Linked DNA regions of Homo sapiens: regions 1 and 2 are each linked to region 3. Evidence: promoter capture Hi-C in human tissues and cell types (Jung and others, 2019). All regions are on one chromosome and are shown on one strand. Each heading gives the region's core, a stretch centred on a gene start or on the middle of the fragment in contact. The rest is flanking DNA. Distances are from core to core; before and after follow the strand shown. Region 1 overlaps IFT81 (intraflagellar transport 81). Region 2 has its middle 11 kb from the start of C12orf76. Region 3 holds the start of ANAPC7 (anaphase promoting complex subunit 7).

What was found. The method cuts DNA at HindIII sites, captures the fragments that hold promoters and counts their contacts. A contact is called where the count stands out against the background at its distance.
Region 1: a contact is called between a fragment that was not itself captured here and the fragment with the promoter of ANAPC7 in region 3, in 1 of the 25 tissues and cell types used here (dorsolateral prefrontal cortex).
Region 2: a contact is called between a fragment that was not itself captured here and the fragment with the promoter of ANAPC7 in region 3, in 2 of the 25 tissues and cell types used here (dorsolateral prefrontal cortex and heart left ventricle).

The regions. Positions count from the first base shown.
Region 1 is chr12:110,130,815-110,134,638 of GRCh38, reverse strand. It overlaps IFT81 (intraflagellar transport 81), which reads right to left. Exons shown (of 19, transcript NM_014055.4): 5 at 2,003-2,092. Among named protein-coding and RNA genes, the nearest start is that of IFT81, 8.4 kb to the right of the region's middle. The HindIII fragment of the contact is 5,126 bases long and covers 12-3,824 here.
Region 2 is chr12:110,057,287-110,061,069 of GRCh38, reverse strand. It overlaps a transcript of C12orf76 not described here. Among named protein-coding and RNA genes, the nearest start is that of C12orf76, 11 kb to the right of the region's middle. The HindIII fragment of the contact is 4,989 bases long and covers 1-3,783 here.
Region 3 is chr12:110,401,355-110,405,099 of GRCh38, reverse strand. It overlaps ANAPC7 (anaphase promoting complex subunit 7), which reads left to right and starts at 1,392. Exons shown (of 11, transcript NM_016238.3): 1 at 1,392-1,573. The coding sequence starts at 1,473. The HindIII fragment of the contact is 28,063 bases long and covers 1-3,745 here.

The DNA.
Region 1 (3,824 bases), core at 1,325-3,824, 270 kb after region 3:
TTTTCTATAATGGAAAGTGTGCAGGTCTAAATACATGAACAACAGCTGCTGACATCCCATCTGTTCTGTTAAATACCAAGCCATATATTTTGCCAATTTTCCATCAAAATTATTTTTAAGGCTATGGTATTTTCATGACATAAGTTTGTACCTGGTTTTTCCAATGAACCAATTCCGTCTCTGAAAATAAAGACTTCAAAAATAAACTTCCTTCCTGTTAACCAGCTTCATAGTATTTTGTTATAAAAACAAACAAATAAAAAAACTCCTTCCTAAATCTAAAAAACTAATAGCTTAAATATCGCAGTAATAGTAAAGGTAAAATATACACGGTAGTCAGTATTGACAGAATTTGGAAAAATGGGCACTCTTACTCATTACCGATAGCACTGTACTGAAGAACAATATCAAAAGTCTTAAAATATAGCCTGGCCAACATGTTGAAATTTTGTCTCTACTAAAAATACAAAACTAGCCAGGCGTGGTGGCAAGTGCCTGTAATCCCAGCTACTTGGGAGGCTGAGGCAGGAGAATCGCTTGAACCCAGGAGGTGGAGGTTGCAGTGAGCCAAGATTGCGCCATTGCACTCCACCCTGGGTGACAGAGTGAGACTCCGTCTCAAAAAAAAAAATCTTAAAATAAATGTTCATCCCTTCTAGCCCAGTAATTTTATATCTGATGATTTGTCCGAATAAAACATTCATGAAAAGACATCCTCTGTAAAGATTCTCATTAATGCAAGTTACATCTACAATTTGGAAATGACCAAAATGTATGAGGATTGTTAAATAAATCACCACATAATACAATGAAAGTCATTAAAAATCATGCAGAAGAATGTTTAATGACATGAGAAAAAGTCATGAAATGACATTAATTGAAAGAGGCGGATTACAACATTTATCTACAGAATACCAAGAAAAAGATTTAAATATATTTATCAAAATGTCAACCATAGTTGTCTCTGGAGAACGAGATTATGAGTGAATTATTTTTTCTTTTCTTTTTTTTTGAGACAAGTTCTCACTCTGTCACCCAGCTAGAGTGCAGTGGTATGATCATAGCTCACTGCAGCCTTGAACTCCCAGGCTCAAGTGATCCTCCTGCCTCAGCTTCCTGAGTAGCTGGGACTACAGGCGTGCACCACCATGCCTGGCTAATTTGTTTTTTTTTTTTTTTCTGGAGACAGAATCTTGCCATCATGCCCAGGCTGGTCTCAAACTCTTGGGCTCAAATGATCCTCCAGCCTCGGCCACCCAAAGTGTTTGGATTACAGGCATGAGCTACCATGCCTGGCCTACTAAAGTATTCTTGAACATATGCTTTGTAGAAAATTTAGAAAATATGATTAAACAAGAAATAAAGGCTAGGTGCAGCAGTGGCTCATGCCTATAATCCCAGTACTTTGAGAGGCCAAGGTGGGAGGATAGCTTGAGCCCAGGAGGTCAAGACCAACCCGGGCAACATGGCAAAATCCCGTCTCTACAAAAAAATACAAAAATTAGCTGGGCATGGTGGCGCATGCCTGTAGTCCCAGCTACTCAGGAGGCTCAGGCATGTGGATCATTTGAACCTGGGATGTCGAGACTGTAGTGAGCTGTGATCACACCACTGTACTCCAGTCTGAATGACAGAGTGAGACCCTGTCTCAAAAAAAAAAAAAAAAAAGAGAGAGAAAGCTTTAGTAATAATGAATAAATTAAAATATAGACTCTAGGTTCTTGTCATTATTCTGGTTTACTTACAGGACATAATGGAGGAATAGTAGATGGACATATATCACTCTTCTTCCGTACTGTAAGTAACTACTCATCGTGAATTTACCCCAGTCTCATCAATTTCATCAGTAAGGAACTACCAAAGGTCCCCCCACAAAGTAAAATGTGCCATTTGCTATCACTAGTCTCCATATAGTCTTAAGACTCATACTGAATTAATAAAATGCTAAATCCAATATTATTCAAATCCCAAAAAAATTGTTACTATGTTTTCTTTCCTTTACCTTTCTTATTTCTGCTGTAGAAAATCCAGATATCTTGAGCTGCTCATATTCTTTATGCAAAGTTTTAAAGGCTTCCATTAACTCTTCATACTAGAAGAATAAGTTAAGAAATTATAAACTAATAACTAGATCCAGTAGAGTTTTCTTTCTTTCTTTCTTTCTTTTTTTTTTTTTTTTGAGACAGACTCTTGCTCTGTCGCCCAGCCTGGAGTGCAGTGGCACGATCTCGGCTCACTACAACTTCCGCCTCCCAGATTCAAGCGATTCTCCTGCGTCAGCCTCCTGAGTACCTGGGATTACATGCGCGCGCCACCACGCCCGGCTAATTTTTGTATTTTTAGTAGAGACGGGGTTTCACCATGTTCAGGCTGGTCTCGAACTCCTGACCTCATGATCCATCCGCTTTGGCCTCCCAAAGTGCTGGGATTACAGGCGTGAGCCACCGCGCCTAGCCATAGAGTTTTCTTAATCAGGTTATCTATTAACTTACAGCGATTACTTAAGTCATTGTAAGAACAGCATTAAAAACACAAAAACACATCCTTATACATTTATATAGGGTACAAAAAAGTACATCTCTACCATCTTAACACTAAATACTTCTCTATCTTCATTTCTGGTTACTTTCCTGCTTCACACTCTACACTAGCTATGTTGATGTCTGAGTTCCTGAACATTCCATGCTCTCACGTCCAGCTTATACATCTATGACTCCCTCACCCATAACTTAAGCAACTCCTTTTCATCCTTCAAGTCTTCACATAGATTCTACTATTCTCAGAGAAGCCTTCTCTGGCCCTTTATCTATCCTATCAGAGTAGATATCATGTACAATTATAACTGACTATTATAATTTTCTGTCTGTCTCCCTCCATCATATAGTGAGAGCCAAGAGGAAAAGAATCATATTCATTGTGTACACCCTTGTATCCCTAGGGCCTAGCACAGTGCATAACCCATGGAGGTGTTTAATATAAAGTAGTTGAATGGGCCAGGTGAGGTGGCTCACACCTGTAATCCTAGCACTTTGGGATGCTGAGGCAGATGGATCACTTGAGGTCAGGAGTTCGAGACCAGCCTGGCCAACATGGTGAAACCCTGTCTCTACTAAAAATACAAAAAATTAGCTGGGCACAGTGGCGCACACCTATAATCCCAGCTACTCAGGAGCTTGAGGCAGGAGAATTGCTTGAACCTGGGAAGTGGAGGTTGCAGTGAGCCGAGATCACACCACTGCACTCCAGCCTGGGTGACAAAGCGAGACTCTGTCTCAAACAAAAAAAAAGTAATTGAATGAATGAAAAAAATCCTGTTACCTAAAAATTTTTTAAAATAGTTTTTTTTTGTTGTTTTTGAGACAGGGTTTCACTCTGTCACCCTGGCTGGAGTGCAGTGGTGCGATCACAGCTCATTGCAGCCTCGACCTCCCTGGGCTTAGGTGATCCTCCCACCTCAGCTTCCCAAGTAATTGGGACTACAAGCTTACGTCACCATGCTGGGCTAATTTTTTTATCTTTTGTAGAGATGGGTTTCACCATGTTGCCCAGGCTGGTCTCGAACTCCTGAGCTCAAGCAATCTGCCCACCTTGGCCTCCCAAAGTGCTAGGATTAAAGGCATGAGACACTGTGCCTGGCCAAAAAGTTATTTTGATGGGGAATGACAGAATAATATTTTTCTTGATTGATCATATCTTAAATCTACAAATTATTAATTATAAGACCCTTCATTCCAAAAGATAATATGTATTTTTATTAGGATTCCTGAAATGACTGGCTAAATGTGTAAATCATTATATATTGTAAATCATTGTGTGTGTGTATA
Region 2 (3,783 bases), core at 203-2,702, 340 kb after region 3:
GGTCTCCCCCACAGAGCTGGCTCTGCATGAATTACTCTTCCTCTATTGCAATGAGCTAAGGGATATGAGGGCAGTTGTGCGATCTTAGCTCACTGCATCCTCCGCCTCCCGGGCTCAAGTGATTCTCCTGTCTCAGCCTCCTGAGTAGCTGGGATTACAGGTGCCCGCCACCACACCTGGCTAATTTTGTATTTTTAGTAGAGATTGGGTTTCACCATGTTGGGCAGGCTGGTCTTGAACTCCTGGCCTCAGGTGATCCGCCCACCTCAGCCTCCCAAAGTGCTGGGATTTCAGGCATGAACCACTGCGCCTGGCCTGAGATGTAGGTTTCTATATCACCAGCATATAGATGGGAACTAGAACCATGGAAGAAGCTGCAATTCACCAGCAAGAGAAGAAGTAGATGAGAAAGCAAGAGGGCCTAGAACCGACCCCGGAGAAGGGCTAACCTTTAAGGGGTGGGAGTGCTGAAGTCCCCAAAGGATTCTGAGAAGGAGTAGCCACAGAGATCCAATGAAAGTCAGGCAAAGGTGGATTCCTGCAAGCTAAGGGAAGGAGGTGAGGGAGGTGGGGCATGGTCACAGTGTCAACTGGTGCTGAGAGTTCCAGGAAGATCAGCTATGTGGTGTGTCTATTGGATTTAGTGACAATGACGTTGTTGTTTACTTGGCAAGAGAGGCTTTAGAGAAGGGATGGGGGTGGGAGCCAGACTGGAGTGGGCGGAGGAGTGAATGGAGATGCAGAAATGGATATGATGACTCACTCTTTCAGGGGACTTGGCTATGAAGAAGAGAGGCATGGAGTGGTGGTAAGAGAATGTGGGATTGAAGAGGGGGTATTTTGGAGACAGAGTTTCACTCTTGTTGCACAGGCTGGAGTGTAATGGGGTGATCTCGGCTCACCGCAACCTCCGCCTCTGGGGTTCAAGCTATTCTCCTGCCTCAGCTTTCTGAGTAGCTGGGAATACAGGCATGTGCCACCATGCCTGGCTAATTTTGTATTTTTAGTAGAGAAATGATGTTAAGTGCAGATGGAAAGGGGACAGGAGAGAAAGGGAAGTTGATGTGGTAAATGAAAATTATCTTCATCATCTTCCTCACCATCACCAGCAGTAACCACAAGGAAAGCTTGTTCTGCTCTGGGACTGCCCTGTCACTTTTCTTCCTGAGAAAATGAGCCAAAATCTTTCCCCCTGTAACTTTCACCTTTGCTTAGTTTTGCCTTGTGTCCCTCTTCAAATGGCTGCACACTGCTACTATGTCTCTCCTCTTCTTCAAACTCACAGCCTCCATCCTACAGGCCATGTGCTCTCAGCCTGGCGACCAGACCCTCAACTGTCTCAACCAAGTTCACACCGCTTGTTTGTCAAGCCCCTCTTAAGAGGCAGTGTACACACTCTTGCTTTGGTGATGGAAGCATGAAATGGTTCAAGCATTTATGATTTAGGAAAATAAACTCAGATAGAAAATGTGCACACCCTTTGACCCAGAAGTCCTGTATAGACTTAATGCCTTAGGTGTGTGAAGAAGCTTGTGCAGGGATTTCTGGCAACATGAATGTGGGGTGGACAGACAGTGAGCACAGTTGTTAGGAGCATAGCCTGAGTGCATTCTTCCTGAGATCAGGAACAGGACGAGGATGCCCGCTTTCACCGCTGCTGTTCAACATTGTACTGGAAGTTCTAGCCAGAGCAATTAGACAAGAAAAGCAATAAAAGGCATCCAGATGGCAAAGAATGAAGTAAAACTATCTTTAATCACAGATGGCACAATCCCATATATGGAGAATCCCGAAGAATTCACAAGAAAACTATTAGATAGAGCTAATTAACCAATTCAGTAAAGTCGCAAGGAACAAGATCAACACACAAAAATTAATTGTGTGTGTGCATTTTTTTTTACACCAGCAAGGAACATTTGAAAAGGAAATTGGAAAAATAATTCCATTTACCATAGCATTTAAGAGAGCTGAGGCTGTGGAGCCAGATGGCTGCGTTCAGAGCTGGCGCTGCTGTTTACCATGTGACCTTGGACAAGCTTCTCGCTTCATTCATACCACAGTTTGTTCGGCTATTAGGTGGAGGTAATACTAGCACCTTCCTTATAGAGTTGGTTTTTGTTTTCATTTTTTTGGTGGGGGGGAGTAAGAATTGCAAAAGTTAATATATGTCAGCAAAATAGACTTAGAAGAGTGGTTGGCACATGGTAAGGACATATTAGGGTTACCAAAAATTGTTTATAATTGGGAAAATTGAACAAAAGTTACAGTTAAATATCTATCCCAGAGACTGACTGGCAAATTATCACAATGTACCTCTTAGCTTGAGCCATATGGAACTGCCTGTATTCTATAGCTATGGCCTACAAAATGGGCAGTTCTTTCTTTCTTTTCTTTTTTTTGGAGAGAGAGTCTCACTCTGTTGCCCAGGCTGAAGTGCAGTGCAGTGGCATGATCTCGGCTCACTGCAACCTCCGCCTTCCAGGTTCAAGTGATTCTCCTGCCTCAGCCTCCCAAGTAGCTGGGATTACAAGCATGCACCACCACAACTGGATAATTTTTGCATTTTTAGTAGAGACAGGGTTTCCGCCATGTTGGCCAGCCTGGTCTTGAACTCCTGGCCTCAAGTGATCTGCCCGCCTTGGCCTCCCAAAGTGCTGGGATTACAGGCGTGAGGCACCATGACCTGCCAAAATGGGCAGTTTCATATATTCAATCACTAGGATACTCTTTAGCCACTGAAAATGATTGTGTATCATAGATCTATCTTTATCACAGATATCTTTACTGTCATAGAAAGAATTAATAACATATTATTGAGTAAAAATAGCAAGTTACAAAACAGCCTGCAGCCTGTAGTGTGGCCACGTTTGTAACATCAGTATATCTGTTTGTGTGTCTAGGTGTGGACATAAAGAGATATCTAGAAGACACTCAAAAGTTTCAACAATGATTGCCTGAGTGATTTGTGCTGGGATCTTCTTTTTTTTTTTTTTTTTTTTTTTTTGAGACCGAGTCTCTCTCTGTTGCTCAGGCTGGAGTTTGCAATGGCGTGATCTTGGCTCACTGCAATCCCCGCCTCATGGGTTCAAATGATTCTCCCACCTCAGCCTCCCGAGTAGCTGGGATTATAGGCGCCCACCACTGTGCCTGGCTAATTTTTGTATTTTTAGTAAAGACGGGGTTTTGCCATGTTGGGCAAGCTGGTCTCAAACTCCTGACCTCGAGTTATCCACCTGCCTTGGCCTCCCAAAGTGCTGGGATTACAGGCGTGAGTCACTGCGCCCAGCTGGGATCTTAATTTATATTTTTTCTTTTTAGCCCTTGATTTTTACCCTGTTAGACTGACTTTAGGAATCTAACCCCCAAAAGTGGAAAGGAATACATTAGTGTTGTTGAAAGCCACTAAGTTAGTGGTAATTTGTTACAGAAACTAATATAATTGGGATTTAACTTGCCTTGGGGGTGCTGGCTCTCCCCCATTTTCTTCTCAGAGCATCTCTTGGGTCCTCAACCCTTGCTGAGCCCCCACCATGGCCTAGAGGACCAGGGATGGACTTGATTAGATTCTCCTCTTGGGATTTTAAAAAAGAGAAGCAGAGGCTGCATGCTCAGCTTCTCCGTGCCGCACTGCAGGCACAGTGCCCGGCGCCACTGTTCTTTAGGGGTCCATGAAGATGTCTGTTGGCCCTGGGTTAGTCATGAGGTAAGGGATATGAGGGCAGTTCACTTTGGAGGCTCAGCCCTTTGGTGTTACTTTTGCTCTGGAACCTTAGGAGCTGTAAG
Region 3 (3,745 bases), core at 143-2,642:
GTCTGAGGAGTTTTGCCTATGGCTCGTGCTGCTACCATCCTGCCTGCACCCAGGTGAAACAAACAGCCTTGTTGCTCACACAAAGCCTGTTTGGTGGTCTCTTCACACGGACGCACATGACAGTGGTGGCAGGCGCCTGTAATCCCAGCTACTCGGGAAGCTGAGGCAGGGAGAATTCCTTGAACCCGGGTGACAGAGGTTGCAGTGAGCTGAGATTTTGCACTCCAGCCTGGGCGACAAGAGCAAAACTCCGTCTCGAAAAAAAGAAAAAAGAAAAGTTCACAGTGATGATGCCCACCAAAATCAAATAGAAGGTCTCACACATCCAGGAAACTAGAGTAGGGGATGAGATGGGAAAAGGATCTACAGGAGCTTCAACTGTGACAAAATGTTAAGAGCTGAAAAAGTTGCTGATGAAGATACACTGTGATTTTTTCAGAGCATTTTTTTTGCATCTACTACTGTAAAAATCAAATGAAAACAAAATCTAGACCAAAACGACTGTCTCCTTTAAGAAAGGAGCGATAGGCTAGATCTGAGAGGATGACTGTGGAGAATATTCGGACTCTGACTCAACGACCTAAACTGCCTCATTGGCTCAGTTACCTCCCTGGTCCCTGTATACATTTGAGTTTGCGATCCAACATAATTAACCAGTCGATCTGATTCCAAGTCAACCATTTAACAACCTGAGCACAAAATTTAAGCAGGCAGTTTCTTCCCTTGTGGGAAGGGAATGACAACTTCAACTTTATGGATTGTTGTGAGCGTCCCAATAACTTGTGTAAAACTTTCCTAAAACGTTAAGTGTGCCAGACACATACTGGTTTATATGGGTATCAGCTAATTCCTGGATCCAGCCTTTATTTCCACGGATCTAGGGAATAATTTTACATGGGGAAATATACCCCTCGAACCAAGGAGTTCCCCCAGGGCCGAAGCCTGACTTGGCAGGAACACAAAACACCTGAGGAGGGGCGCGGCGGCCCTAGCCTGGTGCGCATGCGCCACTGTAAAGGCCGTTAGGTCTGTCCCTGGCGCCCGATTAGAATATTTAATTCCAGTTGGAGCGTTTTTCCTCACCTTACTGTATTTTATTTCGGTAAATACCCACACATTTTAATTTCTGAGAGGCACAAATTCCTCTCAGACTCATTCAAATTGACCGAGTAGTCTTATAAGGTGCCTTTTGTCTCATTGTAAATCCTCAGTAAAGTTTGCAGTTTAGGATGATAACGTGATTTTTGCGTAAAAATAACAACTCATTTCACCTGAAAAGGACCACGACAGGAGCAGGGACTCGAGTTTCTTTTTATTCGGGCACTTCAGTAGTTACCTCTTGCTTGGGGGTGGTGCCGCGTGTGGACCCGATGGACCCCGGCGACGCCGCCATTTTGGAGTCTTCCCTAAGGATCCTCTACCGGCTTTTCGAGTCAGTGCTGCCGCCGCTGCCCGCGGCTTTGCAGAGCAGGATGAATGTGATAGACCACGTGCGGGACATGGCGGCCGCGGGGCTGCACTCCAACGTGCGGCTCCTCAGCAGCTTGTTACTTACAATGAGTAATAACAACCCGTGAGTTGAGGCGGGTAGCTGCCTGGGGCTGAGGAGAAAGCGGCGGCGGTCTGGGAGCGGGGGCTCAGGGCACGTGGGAACAGGCGGGAAGGAGCGGCCGCCGGCGCCAGCGGAGGCTCCGGGGTCTGCGAGGGCGTCCTGGAGCGGAGCAGACTTCGGAGCGCAAGTTGGGTTCACTGGGTGCCGGCGTCAAGTCCCGCGGGGATGTGGCGAGCGGCGGCTTGGAGACATAGAAGGCAGAGGCTCTGAGGACGACCCAGGCGAGGGTTTCCTGAGGCACCTGTCGCGGGGCAGCGCGACTGTCACATCGCTAGGCTGAATCCTTCCCTCTCGGCTCCTTCCAGAAGAACGTTTTTTTCTCTCGCTGCAGCTCAGGGACCCAGCCTCCTGGTTTTTATGCGCTAGCCCCCGCATCTGAGATTGGTCCCCCCGTTAAGTGTATCAGGAGGGTCCACTTTCTGGCCTTGGGAAACCCCTGAAAACGGGGCCGGGCGCGGTGGCTCACGCCTCTAATACGAGCCCTTTGGGAGGCCGAGGCGGGAGGATCGCTTGAGCCCAGGAGTTCAAGACCAACCTGGGCAACATAGGGAGACCCTGCCTCTACGAAAAGTAAAAATTAAACAATTAGCCGGGCGTGATGGTGCGTGCCTGCGGTCCCAGCTACTCGGGAGGCTGAGGCAGGAGGATCGCTTGAACCCAGGAGGTCGAGGCTGCAGTGAGCCGTGATCGCATCATTGTCCTTTACCGTGGGCGACAGAACGACTGCCTGTCTCAAAAAAAGGAAACGGGAGACTCCATTAATGGGTGGGCGTGGCGCCTTTCATGTTTCCTTGAAGCACTGAGCTGATTCCATCCTTGAGTGCATGTCCCTCTCCTGCTTAATATCCTTTATTGGCCGGGCGTAGTGGCTCATGCCTGTAATCCCAGCACTTTGGGAGGCCGAGGCGGGCGGATCACGAGGTCAGGAGATCGAGATCATCCTGGCTAACACAGTGTAACCCCGTCTCTGCTTAAAAAATACCAAAAAAATTTAGCCAGGCGTGGTGGCGGGCGCCTGTAGTCCCAGCTACTCGGGAGGCTGAGGCAGAAGAATAACGTGAACCCGGGAGGCGGAGCTTGCAGTGAGCCGAAGTAGCACCACTGCACTCCAGCCTGGACGACAGAGCGAGACTCCGTCTCAAAAAAAAAAAAAAATCCTTTATTGCACTTATGAAAATTCTTTCCCATGGCCTCTGAAGGCAAATATCTGCCCTCCACTCTCTGCGACTTCATCTCATTACTCTGTTCACTGCTCTCTAGCCTCCCTGGCTATTCTGTTATTTGTTTTTATTTGTTTATTTATTTTTATTTTTTTGAGACAGCCTCGCTCTGTCGCCCATGCTGGAGTTGAGTGGCGCAGTCTTGGCTCACTGCAGCCTCCGCTTCCTGGGTTCAAGCGATCCTCCTGCCTCAGCCAACCAAGTAGCTGGGATTACAGGCGAGCGCCACACGCCCAGCTAATTTTTGTTATTTTAGTAGAAACAGAGTTTCACTATATTGACCAGTCTGGTCTTTTTTTTTTTTTTTTTTTTTTTTTGAGACGGAGTCTCGCTCTGCACGATCTTGGCTCACTGCAAGCTTCGCCTTCTGGGTTCACGCCATTATCCTGCCTCAGCCTCCCGAGTAGCTGGGACTACAGGCGCCCGCCACCGCACCCAGCTAATTTTTTTGTATTTTTAGTAGAGACAGGGTTTCACGATGGTCTCGATCTCCTGACCTCGTGATCCGCCCGCCTCGGCCTCCCAAAGTGCTGGGATTACAGGTGTGAGCCACCGCGCCCAGCCGACCAGTCTGGTCTTCAACTCCTGACCTCTGGTGATCCCGCCGCCTCGGCCTCCCAAAGTTTAAGGATTACAGGCGTGAACCATCGCTTCTGGCCTCTTTGTGTTATTTGAATGCACCAAGCGTGTTCTCTACTCTGGGCCCTTGTACTTGCTGTTCCTCCTGCGACGGTCCTCATCTCAGCGTTGCCTCCTCCTTCAGGTTTTAGCCTGGATATCTCTCCTAAAGAGCCTTCTCTGACTCCCAGGACTCTCGGGTACTCCCACTTTTCTACCCTTCGCATCACCCACCAATTGAAAGCGCAGTGGCTGTGCGCAATAAGCACTCACATGCTTATTGAGTGTGTTGAGG